Linked DNA regions of Homo sapiens: region 1 is linked to region 2. Evidence: promoter capture Hi-C in 16 types of primary human blood cells and fetal thymus (Javierre and others, 2016). All regions are on one chromosome and are shown on one strand. Each heading gives the region's core, a stretch centred on a gene start or on the middle of the fragment in contact. The rest is flanking DNA. Distances are from core to core; before and after follow the strand shown.

Region 1 (7,468 bases), core at 4,958-7,457, 210 kb after region 2:
CATGGATGAAATTATTATGGATGAAATATTACAGCATGGATGAAATATTATGCCAGTATTTAAAAATTTGACTTTGAGGCTGGGCACAGTGGCTCACGCCTATAATCCCAGCACTTTGGGAGGCTGAGGCACGCAGATCACTTGAGTCCAGGAGTTTGAGATGAGCTGGGCAACGTGGCAAAACCCTGTCTCTACAAAAAATAGAAAAATTAGCCAGGTGTGGTGGCTCACGCCTGTAGTCCCCACTACTCGGGAGGCTGAGATGTGAGGATCGCTTCAGCCCAGGAGGCAGAGGCTGCAGTGAGCCAAGATCATGCCACCGCACTCTAGCCTGAATGACTGAACAAGACTCTTGTCTCCAAAAAAAAAAAAAAAATTGACTTTGATATTTAAGGAATCATTAATATTCGCAGTTTTGAGGGTGCTACTGTTATTTTTTAAAGGATGTTTTAAGAGCTACATCTTGAAATATGTATGGATAAATGAAATATCAGGTTTGTTTCAGAATAGTCTGTAGAGGATTGGGGGGGTCCTGAGGTCAGATATACAAGCATTTTTGTAAATTAAAAGGTTATATGGTCCTGATTTTCATTGTCCATTTGAATGAGGGTAAAATTTTCTGAGTGAGTCCTGATTTGGTGGTTTGCCTTGTTGCAGGATCATGTTTTCTTATGTGAAGGAGAAGAACCAAAATCGGATCTTAAAGGTGAGCTTTTGTTTTCTTTCCCTTCTCCTGAGTGGCCTCATTATTTCTGGAAGAGTTGCTAGTCTCTCCTCTGGGAATGAAAAGGAGTCTTTCTTTGCACCTTCTGGGCCACCTGATTAAAACGAGCTCAGGTGTATCCACTGCAAGAGGATTCAGCATTTGAAGAAGGCTAGGGTGAAACCCTGGGACTTGGTTGTCTTGCTCATCAGCCTAGGCCCAGGGCCATGGGGTCGTCTCCTAGAAGCTCATCTGTGTAGTGATGGGCAGGGATCCCAAACCTTCAGTGAACTCATGACCAAGCATAGAGCTGGCAGAACTAATCGAGAAGAGAGGGGCACAAGAGAGGGATGGAGGATGGGGAGGCGGGTGTCTCCATGGTGAGTCACCCCGGGGGAGTGAGCCACTGCTCAGGTTGAGCGGCAGACTTCGACTCTCCCCACGGCTCTTTAGCCTGACCATGGGCATCGGTTTCTGCCTTTGGGTCTCCATTTCCCTTAACTAATGACCAAGATTTGTGGGATTTCATTCACCTTTGAAAAGCCCAGGGTAACAGCAACAGAGCCTGCCTTTGCCTTGCTAAGCCCTCACCTAGGATGCATTCCCTCGCCGCCTCATGGTCACTCTCAGGGGCTTGCTTTCTATACTTGAGATGGAAGAAATGGGAGTGGTGTCTAACAAGCAATATAAAGAAACAATTCACTTAGGAAGAAATCAAGGAGTATTTACAGTAGCAAGCCCCAACTTTATGCCCATTTCAAAACTGCATCTGCTAATTACAGTGAGTTGTTTTGGTACCAGATGAAAAGCCTGTCTATATTGTCTTCTCTTTCCCAGTTACAGCATGAATTTCTTGCAGGTTGCTCTATGACACACTTTTTATTTCCACAGCCTGCCTGTCAGGGTCATGGGTTGCCTCTAATGGGATGTTGTTCTAACTTTGTGTCCCACAGCTGCAAGGAGCATCCCGGCTGGAGCAGAGCCAGGTGAGAAAGGCAGCGCCAGAAAAGCAGGCCCCGCCAAGGAGCAGGAGCCCATGCCCACAGTCGACAGCCATGAGCCCCGGCTGGGGCCGCGGCCTCGCTCTCACAACAAGGTCCTGAACCCACCGGGAGGCAAATCCAGCATCTCCTTCTACTAAGAGAAGCCACTGCTCCACCCGGAGCCAGACCAGAAACTCAAGAGATAGGGTAGCCATGTTTTCATTTCCTTTTGCCCAAATGAGCGGGGTGGGAAGAGGGTTAGTCTTATGTGAGCCTGGCTGCTCAGCGTCTCCTGGCCGTCATGACAGCTGCTTGGAGACCCGTGCCTTCCAGATGGCTGGGAGATGCCTCTGTGGGGATGAAATGGGGCACCCCTGGCCATCACTCATGTGTAGTCCAGGTTTGAGAGGAACTGGAAGGGGGGTGAGGGTGGGGAGGTGGGGCAGGGCATGGTCCTTGGATCAACAGCCCGCCAGCTGATTGGATGTCTAGGAATGACTGAAAGAAACCAAAACAGCCTGTCCACTGCTGCTGTGGGATGGAGGAGGCGTAAGCAGAAACACTAACAGTATATTGACCTCTTAGCAGAACCGCTTCCATTCTGGAGATCACGGCTGCTAAATCCAGCATCCCCACTTCATTTTACCCCCAGCATATTGTTCTGTAGTCTTTTCTTGAAACATCTTGATTGCTTTTCCTCGGCAGCTTTCAAAAAACCAAATAATAATAGTTATCCGTCTTCTACTTCATGGAAGATTGTTTTGGTGCCCTGACCCTCTGAAGTGCCCAGTTCCTGCCATCTGAAACCTCGGCCTGATCTGATCTCATGTTGGAATCTGCCTGTCTTTCACACAGGGCTGGTCTTGGTCCTTTACATGCCAGTTTTGCTTGTGAATTCTTGCTTTTTTCCTCTCATCAGCCTTAAGTTTAGGCGTTTGTTGTTCTCCAGTGATGTAGACAGTTCCCTTCACAAGTCACAGTTCTTCCCATAAATGAGGCCCGCTGACCTCTGCGGGACTTTAAAAATCTATTCAGATATTTCCGAGTAAGTGGCTTGTTTAAATTCTTCCTGTGTCTTTCTTTATTCCTTAATTGGTTGGTGGAAAGAAGAGATGCTTGGGAACCTTGGGTTCTTAGGTTTGGATTCTTTAATAATATCTAAAAAGCTAAATTTTAAATACCAGCTTTACATAAATGATTGTTGACTCTGGTCTGTTTCTGACACCTTTCCAGAAAAAAGTCAATTGTTCAGGTACACCAAAGAGGAAGAAGAGCTGTGGAGGCCACCCTCTACAAAGCTTTATAGAACTTCTGGATCTAACTCACAAACAAGCTTCCAGAAGAGACTAGAGACCTTAGGCCAGGAGATGAAGGAGTTCAGTAGCAAAGTCACACCTGTCCAATTCCCTGAGCTTTGCTCACTCAGCTAATGGGATGGCAAAGGTGGTGGTGCTTTCATCTTCAGGCAGAAGCCTCTGCCCATCCCCCTCAAGGGCTGCAGGCCCAGTTCTCATGCTGCCCTTGGGTGGGCATCTGTTAACAGAGGAGAACGTCTGGGTGGCGGCAGCAGCTTTGCTCTGAGTGCCTACAAAGCTAATGCTTGGTGCTAGAAACATCATCATTATTAAACTTCAGAAAAGCAGCAGCCATGTTCAGTCAGGCTCATGCTGCCTCACTGCTTAAGTGCCTGCAGGAGCCGCCTGCCAAGCTCCCCTTCCTACACCTGGCACACTGGGGTCTGCACAAGGCTTTGTCAACCAAAGACAGCTTCCCCCTTTTGATTGCCTGTAGACTTTGGAGCCAAGAAACACTCTGTGTGACTCTACACACACTTCAGGTGGTTTGTGCTTCAAAGTCATTGATGCAACTTGAAAGGAAACAGTTTAATGGTGGAAATGAACTACCATTTATAACTTCTGTTTTTTTATTGAGAAAATGATTCACGAATTCCAAATCAGATTGCCAGGAAGAAATAGGACGTGACGGTACTGGGCCCTGTGATTCTCCCAGCCCTTGCAGTCCGCTAGGTGAGAGGAAAAGCTCTTTACTTCCGCCCCTGGCAGGGACTTCTGGGTTATGGGAGAAACCAGAGATGGGAATGAGGAAAATATGAACTACAGCAGAAGCCCCTGGGCAGCTGTGATGGAGCCCCTGACATTACTCTTCTTGCATCTGTCCTGCCTTCTTTCCCTCTGCGAGGCAGTGGGGTGGGATTCAGAGTGCTTAGTCTGCTCACTGGGAGAAGAAGAGTTCCTGCGCATGCAAGCCCTGCTGTGTGGCTGTCGTTTACATTTGGGAGGTGTCCTGTATGTCTGTACGTTGGGGACTGCCTGTATTTGGAAGATTTAAAAACCTAGCATCCTGTTCTCACCCTCTAAGCTGCATTGAGAAATGACTCGTCTCTGTATTTGTATTAAGCCTTAACACTTTTCTTAAGTGCATTCGGTGCCAACATTTTTTAGAGCTGTACCAAAACAAAAAGCCTGTACTCACATCACAATGTCATTTTGATAGGAGCGTTTTGTTATTTTTACAAGGCAGAATGGGGTGTAACAGTTGAATTAAACTTAGCAATCACGTGCTCAGAGCTTTTGCCTGTCAGTTGTGTGTGTCCCTTATAGTCCCTTCCCCCACAGCTCTTGCTGAAAGAGTTTGCCTTGTTTTGTTTTGTTGTTTTGTATTTAGCCAGAGGATGCCAAAATTAGTCTTCTCAAAGCTTTGAGTAGAGTAAGTGTGGGAATAAGCCAGTTTTTTTTTTTCTGTTTCTGTAACTTAAATGAACGGGTTTTTTTCCCTTGTATGCCACTTGTCCTAACATGTCCTTAAGGTGTTTAACCTGCCTCTGACCTGGCTTGCAATGCATAGGTGAGGAGAAGCAGAGAGCTTGTCATATGCAAGTCCTGTCAAGAAAACAGGTGGGCATGGTGGCTCAGGTCTGTAGTCTTTGGGTCTTTGGGAGGCCAGGGTGGGAGGATCACTTGAGCTCAGGAGTTTGAGACCAGCCTAGACAACATACTACGACCCTGTCTATACAAAAAAAAACTTCTCTAAATTAGCCGGATGTGGTGGTGCATGCCTGTAGTCCCAGCTACTCGGGAGGCTGAGTGAGGCAGGAGGATCACTTGAGACCAGGAGGTTGTGGCTGTAGTGAGTGATGATCATGCCACTGCACTTCAGCCTGGACCACAGAGCAAGACCCTGTGTAAAAAAATAAAATAAAAAACAGATTGGATGTCTTTCTTCTGATGTATTAGCTATTTTCATATGTTTTCTAACATACTTAATATCCTTACAGGCATTATGTGGATTCAGGGTAAACTTCTCAGACTGTGAGCCTGAGAGTTCCTCTCTAGGAGGCTCCACACCATTCTGCCTGCTAGATCGGGGCCAGATGAGATGAAAGTCAACGCTTGAGAAAGAAAACCAACATGCATTAACTGAAACACCGTCTTCACTTGTTCATCCACAGGGTATAGAGCGAGTTCCAAGAACCAGGCTAGGAAATGACACGCTAAGTTTCCTATTTCTAGCAGCTGCCAAGGCCACCAGCAAGCATGGGAACCTCTGGGAGTCACAGCTCCTCCGTCTCCAGAGGCCTGGCAGTGGCCAAGTCTAGAAGGACGCGGGTGCCACCTGGTACAGGGTGAGGGTGTGAATAACAGACCCCGAAGGGTTGCCACCTCGAGCCCCGTGCCTTGTCCAGGAATACACAGGCTCTTTTGATGTCAGGTAACTTTGCCATATGATCTTTGTGGTGTACCTGGTAGGTCACACCCTGTGAGTGTGTAGATGCCTCCTCCCGTGCTGGCTGCTTAATTTCTTCTGCACTCATAATCCTGACCATCTTGAAGATCATCACTGAAATACTCCTGTGTAATGTGTGGCTACAAAGTGCTATCTAAAGATGCTCTCTCAAACTCAGCTCATGAAGATGAGAGGAACATCACAGGGAACTGTGTGGCTTCTTAGCAGGCATCAGGGCAGATACTTAGAAATTAAAGTTGAATTTTAGAAACTTACATTTTATATTTTAATGCCCATCTTACATTTTAAGGTATTTTAGTGAGAAAAAGTTGCATCCCAAATAGTATTTCTGAATCTGAAAGGAAGTCAACTCCTCTGTTACTAGAAGTTCGTTCTTCTTTTTTTTTAGACAGAGCCATTCTGTCACCCAGGCTGGAGTGCAGTGGCACAATCTGCTCACTGCAGCCTCAACCTCCCAGGCTCAAGTGATCCTCCCACCTCAGCCTCCCAAGTAGCTGGGACTGCAGGCATGCACCACCACGCCTGGCTGATTTTTTTTTTTTTTTGGTAGAGTCTGGGTTTCACTATGTTGCCCGGGCTGGTCTCAAGCTTCTGGATTCAAGCGATCCTCCCTCCTTGGCCTCCCAAAGTGCTGGGATTACTGGTGTAAGCCACTATGCCCAGCTGTAAGCAGTTCTAATTCAGCACCAACTTTCAGGAGAAGACCAGTTGTATGATTCCATAAGTGTCAAGAATTATCCAGCACCTTGTTAAAATTTCATTTTAACCAACTTAAAGTAACAAATCTGTGCAATCATGGTAGTGATAATTAATCAATTGAGTTGATGGCCAAGTCTGTTGGCCTCTCCCTGTGGTAGCATTGTTCCTACTGTAGTGTGCTACCTCAGGAATTCAAAGGGCTCAAGTTTCTCAAAGGTATAAAGCAGAAGCTTTAAACATCCCCCAAAATGCAAGCTTGCTCTAACTTGTTCACCAGGAAGAATTATAGATTACATCTGTTTGCCCAGCCTTATCATTTTCACTTTATGGAACCTCACAACTCTCCGTAACCTTTATCGCACGTTATTTGCTGGAGATGGCGCCATGCTCCTTTCATGGATTAGCTGACATTCCTAATAGGCTGGATATTTTAGGCTGTTTTGCAGGCTTAGAAACAGAGATTTGGGGCCAGGCACGGTGGCTCATGCCTGTAATCCCAACACTGGGAGGCTGAGGTGGGTGGATCACCTGAGGTCAGGAGTTTGAGACCGGCCTGACCAGTATGGTGAAACCCCCATCTCTACTAAAAATTACAAAAATTAGCCAGGCGTGGTAGCACATGCCTGTAGTCCCAGCTACTCGGGAGGCTGAGGCAGGAGAATGGCTTGAACACGGGGGGCGGAAGTAACAGTGAGCTGAGATGGTGCCACTGCACTCCAGCCTGGGCCACAGACTGAGACTCCATCTCAGGAAAAAAAAAAAAAGAAAAGAAAAGAAATGGAGATTTGGCAAAATTAAGTCACTTGGGATCCCAGGAAATTGGAATCTGAGGCTGAATGAAACCTCTTAGTGGGATGGTTGAACATGTATACGGCAAATTATGTTGCAAGTGGAAAATGTGAAAAACACAATAGAGCCTGGCATGGTGGCTCACACCTGTCATCTAAGCACTTTGGGAGGCCAAGGGGGAGGATCGCTTGAGGCCAGGAGTTCAAGACCAGCCAGAGTAACAGTGAGACCTCTGTCTCTACAAAAATGTTTTTAAAATTGGCCAAGCAGTGGTGGCTTACACCTGTAGACCCAACTACTTAGGAGGCTGAGGTGGGATCACTTGAGCCTAAGAGTTCAAGTGAGCCCTGATCATGCCAGTGCCTCCAGCCTGAGCAACAGGGTGAGACCCTGCCTCTAAAAACTGAACAACAAAAAAAATCAGTAGGGTGTCAGCTACGGGAGTTACTGTTTCGGTGCAATCAGATTAGGATGAGAGGATCTGAACTGATGAGCATTGCAGTAGGTGAAAGACGGTAAGTGGCCATTT
Region 2 (6,827 bases), core at 2,261-4,760:
CCCACATCCGGCTAATTTTTGTATTTTTAGTAGAGACGGGGTTTCACCATGTGGGCCAGGCTGGTCTCAAACTCCCGACCTCAGGTGATCCACCCGCTGTAGCCTCCCGAAATGCTGGGATTACAGGCATGAGCCACCGCGCCCGGCCAATTTTTGTATTTGTAGTAGAGACGGGGTTGCCCCATGTGGGCCAGGCTGGTATTTTTGGTTACAGGTTGTGTACTGGCTTGAATGAGACCCTCCTAAAAACACACATAAGCCCCAGGCAGGGCCTTATGTGGAAAAGGTCTCTGCGGATGTCATGAAGGATTTTGAGATGAGACCATCCTGGATTATCCAGGTGGCCCTAAAGCCAATGACAGGGGTACAAGAGACAGAGGAGGAGGCACAGAGGACACGGCCTGTGAAGATGGGGCAGAGACTGGGGTGACGCTGCCACGAGGAACCCCCAGAGGCCCCAGAAGCTGGAAGAGGTAAAGTGGGAACCCCCAGCCCAGAGCCTTCGAGGGAGTGTGCACCTTCACTTCAAGACTTCCAGCCCCCAGAACTGTGATAGGACTCATTTCTGTTGTTTCAAGCCGCCCAGCTCATGGGAATAAGATCATCCACAAAGTTGTCCCACTGGGGGCATCCATCATTCCCAAGGTGGCATGAGCCAAGAGGGTGCCAGGCCAGGAAACCATCGGTGGCCCCCAGGCTCCCCTTGTCAAGCGTCAGAACACCATGGACATGGAGAAGATGCAGAAAGCATCGGAGAGAACATCCTGGGCACATGGACGGGGTTGGGGCCTTAGGCCCCGGGGGACTGGCAGCCACCAGGACAGCGACGCTGGTGCCACACACAGAGCGGCGGATCTCGCAGCTTCCAACTGACAGTGAGTTCCATTTATTTATGTATTTATTTTATTTCGGTAGAGAAGGGTCTTGCTATGTTGCCAGGCTGTTCTCAAACACTCCTGGGCTCAAGCAATCCTCCCAGCTCAGCCTAGCCAAAGTGCTGGGTTTACTGGCGTGAGCCACTGAGCCTGCCTGATTTCCATTTAAAGTTGTGGGTCGGGGCAGGGTGTGGTGGCTCTCTCCTGTAATCCCAGCACTTTGTGAGGTCAAGGTGGGCAGATCACTTGAGTCCAGGAGATCGAGACCAGGCTGGGCAACATGGCAAAACCCCGTCTCTACTAAAATTACAAAAATCAGCCAGACGTGGTGGTGTGCACCTGCAGTCCCAGCTACTTGGAAGGCTAAGGCGGGAGGATCGCCTGAGCCGGGGAGAAGGAGGTTGCAGTGAGCTGAAATCGCGCCACTACACTCCAGCCTGGGTGACAGAGCAAAGAATAAAGACATTTTCAGACACACAAAGGCTTGAGAAATTTGTCCTCCAAGCACCCACTGTTGGATGCGGGGCTTCAGGAAAAGAAGGGAATAGGGAAGGACGGAGCTGCCGTGGGCACTGGCGAGGGCTGGAACCCAGCAGCGGACGGAGGAGGAGTTTCCGGGATGATGGGATGCTGCCTGCCCCATATCCCATCCATCAGCTCTGCCTGCAGAGACATGCCCTGAGTTCAGCTGCTTCTCTACACCCCCATTCCGCCCCAAGCTCATCCTCACAATGGCCACCTAGTCCCCTCGTCCGTGTCGCCCCCCTACCGTCTGCTCTCCTAACTGCACCAGCATGGACCCGTGCCTTCAATGGCTCCAGGAGATGCCTGCCACACAAGCAAAATCTTAGTCCCTGCGAGGGCCTTCTGTGGCCTGGCCCACTGCCTCACTCCCTCCAGGCCTCACCCCTGCATATGCCTCCCTCGGCTCCACCTCCCGGGCAACAGTTGCGGCCTCAGGCCTTTGCACCTGCCGTTTTCCTGCCAGTGAGACTCTTCCCTGGCTGTCAACACATTCAGGGCTCTGCTCTAAGGTGTTCTGTTCAGAGCTCTCACCTTACGTAAGACAGCACCCACTGCTCTCTGGCTCTTTTCTTTTTTTTTTTTTTTGGAGGAGTCTCGCTCTGTCACCCAGGCTGGAGTTCAATGGCACAATCTCCACTCATTGCAACCTCTGCCTCCTGGGTTCAAGCAATTCTCCTGCCTCAGCCTCCCAAGTAGCTGGGATCACAGACACATGCCACCACGCCCAACTAATTTTTGTATTACTATTATTATTATTATTATTCTTTTTTTAGGAGAGACGGGGTTTCACCATGTTGGCCAGGCTGGTCTCGAACTCCTGAGCTTGTGACCCACCCGTCTCGGCCTCCCTAAGTGCTGGGATTAGAGGTGTGAACCACTGTGCCCGGCCACTGGCTCTTATTTTCTTACCCTACCGGTTTTTTATTTTGATTCCTTTTTTTTTTTTGAAACAGGGTCTTGCTCTGTTGTCCAGGCTGGAGTGCAGTGGCAGTGAACATGGCTCACTGCAGCCTCAACCTCCCGGGCTCAAGCCATCCTCCCACCTCAGCCTCCTGAGTAGCTGGGATCACAGGCTCATGACACCGTGCCTGGCTAATTTTTAAATTTTTTGTAGAGACAGGGTCTCACTATTTTTCCCATTCTTGAACTTCTGGGTGCAAACGATTCTCCCACCTCAGCTTCCCAGTGCTGGAATTACCGGCGTGAGCCACCGGGCCCGGCCTCTGCCAGTTTTTCTGCTCGAGGCCTGTCACCTGGCATATTTCGTATGTACTTTATCTGTTCCCCCGATAGGTGAGCAGGAACTTTGCATCATTTGTTGCTCAGAAGGCTTGGTGCACCAAGCAGGCATTTAATCAATGTTTGTTGAATGGATAACTGTTCCCCAGCTTTTCCCACATCCATCACTGCTGAAATGGCGCCTCTTTAGGTGTCTTCCTGGATTGCCCCCTCCACAAAGATGAAGCCCCCCACACTCCGCTGCGGTGTACAGAAGGCACTGCATGTTGTAAATGTTCAGTGTCCGGCTGTCCAGCCTGGCGGCCACAGCCAAAGGTAGTACCGAGCCCTTGAGATGGGGCTAGTGCTGCAAGGGAACTGGACTTATTTAACTTCAGTTAATTTACAGAGCCACATGCGTCTAGCGCTTACCCTACTGGTCGCAGTTTTTATTCCACGACCCGGCCTCATTTACGGAGCTGCAATTGTTCAGATCTGACATGATCTCAACTGCTCTTTTACTTCCTTGTGTACCGTGCGTTTCCCTTACTGGCCTCTGACCCTTGAAAGCAGAGCCTTACATCCGGGGAAGACGAGCCAGGCCTGTCTTGGTAAACATCTGCCTTAGAGCGAACGCTCGGCGTTCTGGAGAGAATGTGGGACCCGAGGCGGAGGGAAGAGACGGCTGACATCACTCCAGGGTAGGGACGACCGAGATGGGAGAAACTAAGGCGAGAACCCACCACCCGGGCGCAGCGAACCCAGCTCGCAGCCACGTGGGGAAGCGCGGCCCTGCCCTCAGGCCCCGCCCCACTCACGCGTCAGGCCCCGCCCACCCCACCGCCCCCCGCTCCCGCGTCCAGGCTCCGCCCCGTCCCCGCGCAGCGCAGGCGCAGATGCGCCCTCCCGCCTGGCGTCCTCCGCAGATTCGCGCTGAGAGGCCCGCGGAGACCCGCCCCAGAGGCTCAAGAAAACCCGCGGGAGCCTCGCCCGGACCCAGGAACTCGTGCTCGGGGCCAACCGGCTGGGCCGCGATCGCGTTTCGTCCGGGGCCGCGGCGGCCGTGGGGAATCGGCTGCAGCGAATCGGTGGCGCGCGGCGCCTGAGCGCGCTGCAGTCACCCGGGAGCCGGGTCCAGGTCGGGTTGGGGGTCGGGGATCGGGGATCGGGGGTCCGGTTGGGTCGGGTTGGGCTCCAGGTCTGGTTGGGTCGGGTCCAGGTCGGGTAGGAGTCCGGTCGGGGTCCGGGTACAGGTCGGGGTCCGGGCCTGGATCGGGGGCGGGTCCGCGTGCGGCTCCTCTAGCCCCGAACCCGTGTTCCCCGTAAGCTGTTGGTTTCTAAGGGGCGGAGGAATGGCGACTGGAGCCACCTCTCACCGCTCAGGGAGCCGGGAGGGCCGGCAGCTCCCGCGGGCCGAGTTTCCCGCCTTGGGTGCGAGGACGCGTGGGGCCGCGCTGTGCCCGGGGAACACTCACCAGCATCTCTAGCCTCCACCTCCCTCTCGCGCCAGTGGCACTCCCGGTTGAGACAACTGAGAATGTTCCCTGGGCACAGTGGCCCGGGTTGAGAAGCCCTGCAGTGGCTGGTAGCGTTGGGGTCCGAGCGGAGGAGCGAACTCTGGGTGGAAACCGGCAGGCACTGGAGGGGAAGGAGGCGGGACAGGGTTGGGTGGGACCAGGGTTGAGGGGTGTGGGGTCTCGGGGCGCTCACCGAGGGGCTTCCTGAGCTTGTGTGGATTATTTCCGTGCCCCAAGCTGAGCCCTGTGTCCATGTCACAGGTCGTCTTCCCGTGACGCCCAGATCTGTCCTGCAGGATGGAGCCAGCACCCTCAGAGGTTCGACTCGCCGTCCGGGAAGCCATTCATGCCCTCTCGTCTTCGGAGGATGGCGGCCACATCTTCTGCACCCTGGAGTCCCTGAAGCGGTATCTCGGTGAGATGGAGCCTCCAGCGCTCCCGAGGGAGAAGGAGGAGTTTGCCTCGGCCCACTTCTCGCCTGTCCTCAGATGTCTTGCCAGCAGGCTGAGCCCAGCCTGGCTGGAGCTGCTGCCCCATGGCCGCCTGGAGGAGCTGTGGGCCAGCTTCTTCCTGGAGGGCCCGGCGGACCAAGCCTTCCTGGTGTTGATGGAGACCATCGAGGGTGCTGCGGGGTGAGTGGGCTGGGCCCATCCTGGGGTTGCCGGTAGCCTCAGAAGTGATGAGAGTGGCTTGAAGGACTGGACCAAGAGCCTCTCTAGTCCCTGTGAGGGGCTAGAGAGAGAGCCTGCTCCTGGCTGAACCCCTGAACAGAAGAAGCGGTCTGTGTCTGTCTCCTTTGCGACGGGAGGCACCTGCTGTGTCTCACAAAGTCCCCCACTTGCTCCCCGTCCGGCTGTGTCAGAGAGGGATGGGGTGGGAGTGTTCACATCCCAGGCGGCAGAGGCAGCCCGTCAGCTGGGGACGTTCCAGGTTTTCCAGGGAAGCACAGCTGTCATCACTGACACGTGTCCCATGTGGACTCCCAGCCCCAGCCGGCTCCCAGGCTCAGCCTCAGATCACACTGCAGTCCTTGCCGGGACACTGCATCTTGAGAAGCTGGGTTTTCAGAGGTTGCTGTGATCAAAGCAAGCACTGAGTTATCCGCGTCAGCAGCAGGGGAGGGGTGTCCAGTGAGACTCCAGGTTGGGGAAGCCGCTCAGGGCCCCGAGAGCTCTCACACAGTAATCGCAGTTATTTAGGAATGGATTAACAGATTTTCCCATCCGGCTTGTGGTTTTGGACTTCACGCTGGTTATGTTGTTGGGGCTGCCCGTGTAATCCGGGCTGCTGGTTCCTTGTGGCAGGAAGGGGGCCCCGAGGATGGGGGTTGGCGGCTCTGCCCAACACGCCCGTATCTTCAGCCCCAGCTTCCGGCTGATGAAGATGGCGCGGCTGCTGGCCAGATTCCTGCGCGAGGGCCGGCTGGCAGTGCTGATGGAGGCGCAGTGTCGGCAGCAGACGCAGCCCGGCTTCATCCTGCTCCGGGAGACGCTGCTGGGCAAGGTGGTGGCCCTGCCCGATCACCTGGGCAACCGCCTGCAGCAGGAGAACTTGGCCGAGTTCTTCCCCCAGAACTACTTCCGCCTGCTCGGCGAGGAGGTCGTCCGGGTGCTGCAGGCGGTTGTGGACTCTCTCCAAGGTGAGGCCCTGCCTCGGGGACCCCCTTTGCCACCCGTCTTCTTGGGTCCTCGTCCCCTGCCACCCTCTGGTGCCTCACGGCCTCTGGAGACTTTGGAGTCTCTGGTTGATGCCGTCAGGCAGGTGGGGATGTCCCTGTCCCGCACAGTAGTGACCGGCAGGGCTCATCCGCTGTGGGCTGAAGTCCGCTGCCCTCCACGCGGGCTTCTCTTGTCCCTGCAGTCCCTTGGGTTTCCAGGGCCCAACTGTGCTGTGGTGGCCAGGTGGGGGATCTCGAGGTTCTCAGGTCTGGAGGCAGACGCTGGCGGTGCCCTGGAGAGGGGGTGCTGTGGGAACGGCCTTGCCCGCTGCTGGGCTGCAGGGCCCCGTGAGCGCCCATGCTCGCTCTGTTTTCCCTGGGGCGCCAGATGGCGGCTGCCGCGAGTGTGCGTTTCACTAGCGAGAAGGAGGCTGGGCCGGGGGCCTGCACAGCACCCGGAGCGTCTGCCTCTCCCTGCAGGGTGACCCCTTCCTTCTCTTGCCTTTCCCGAGCTCCAGGCGACAGCTCAGACGCAGGTCGAGCACCTGGGTCCGGACTCCACCCTCCACATGCTGCCCCGACCTCGTTCTGAAACTCCCTCCCTCGCTCAGGGGCACCCTGGGGTCCTGGAGCAGCTCGGCGCCCCCTCAGAGCCCAGGAGGAAGCCGGGCCCCTCGAGTCCCTGCGTGGGGCCTGTGTGGCCCAAGCCCCCTCGCCTCACCTGGGGGTTCCTGCAGCAACCTCCTGAGCCCCTCCTGTCTTTTCCGAACGTAGCCCTAGGCTTGCAGCTGCTGCTGTGCATGGGCCCATGTATTAAGGAGGCTTTGGGAACATCTCGGACACATGTGGAATGCGGCTTTTTCACGTGTTCGGGGTTGGCTGGGGCCGTCCTGGTCCCCACGCGGCTCTGTGCTTTCCGCTGCCCCGCGTCCCAGCTCTTCTGTGGGGCTGGTACAGCCCGGCCCCTCCCGGTTCCCCACGTTCCCTGGAGTGCGCTCCTTCCCTGTGGGCGGCCGTGGTGGTGGTGCTGCTCCA

The links. The method cuts DNA at HindIII sites, captures the fragments that hold promoters and counts their contacts. A CHiCAGO score of 5 or more calls a contact.
Region 1: a fragment that was not itself captured here is called in contact with the fragment with the promoter of TELO2 in region 2 in 1 of 17 cell types (endothelial precursors); the score reaches 5.5 in endothelial precursors.

The regions. Positions count from the first base shown.
Region 1 is chr16:1,697,155-1,704,622 of GRCh38, forward strand. JPT2 (Jupiter microtubule associated homolog 2) reads left to right here. Exons shown (of 5, transcript NM_144570.3): 4 at 658-706; 5 at 1,657-4,932. The coding sequence ends at 1,844. Among named protein-coding and RNA genes, the nearest start is that of MAPK8IP3, 5.3 kb to the right of the region's middle. The HindIII fragment of the contact is 341 bases long and covers 6,038-6,378 here.
Region 2 is chr16:1,489,850-1,496,676 of GRCh38, forward strand. TELO2 (telomere maintenance 2) reads left to right here and starts at 3,511. Exons shown (of 21, transcript NM_016111.4): 1 at 3,511-3,756; 2 at 4,397-4,767; 3 at 5,497-5,774. The coding sequence starts at 4,433. RefSeq lists enhancers at 3,169-3,218, 3,316-4,216, 5,118-6,018, 6,019-6,827 and silencers at 3,429-3,518, 3,689-3,738, 3,749-3,948. The HindIII fragment of the contact is 10,177 bases long and covers 1-6,827 here.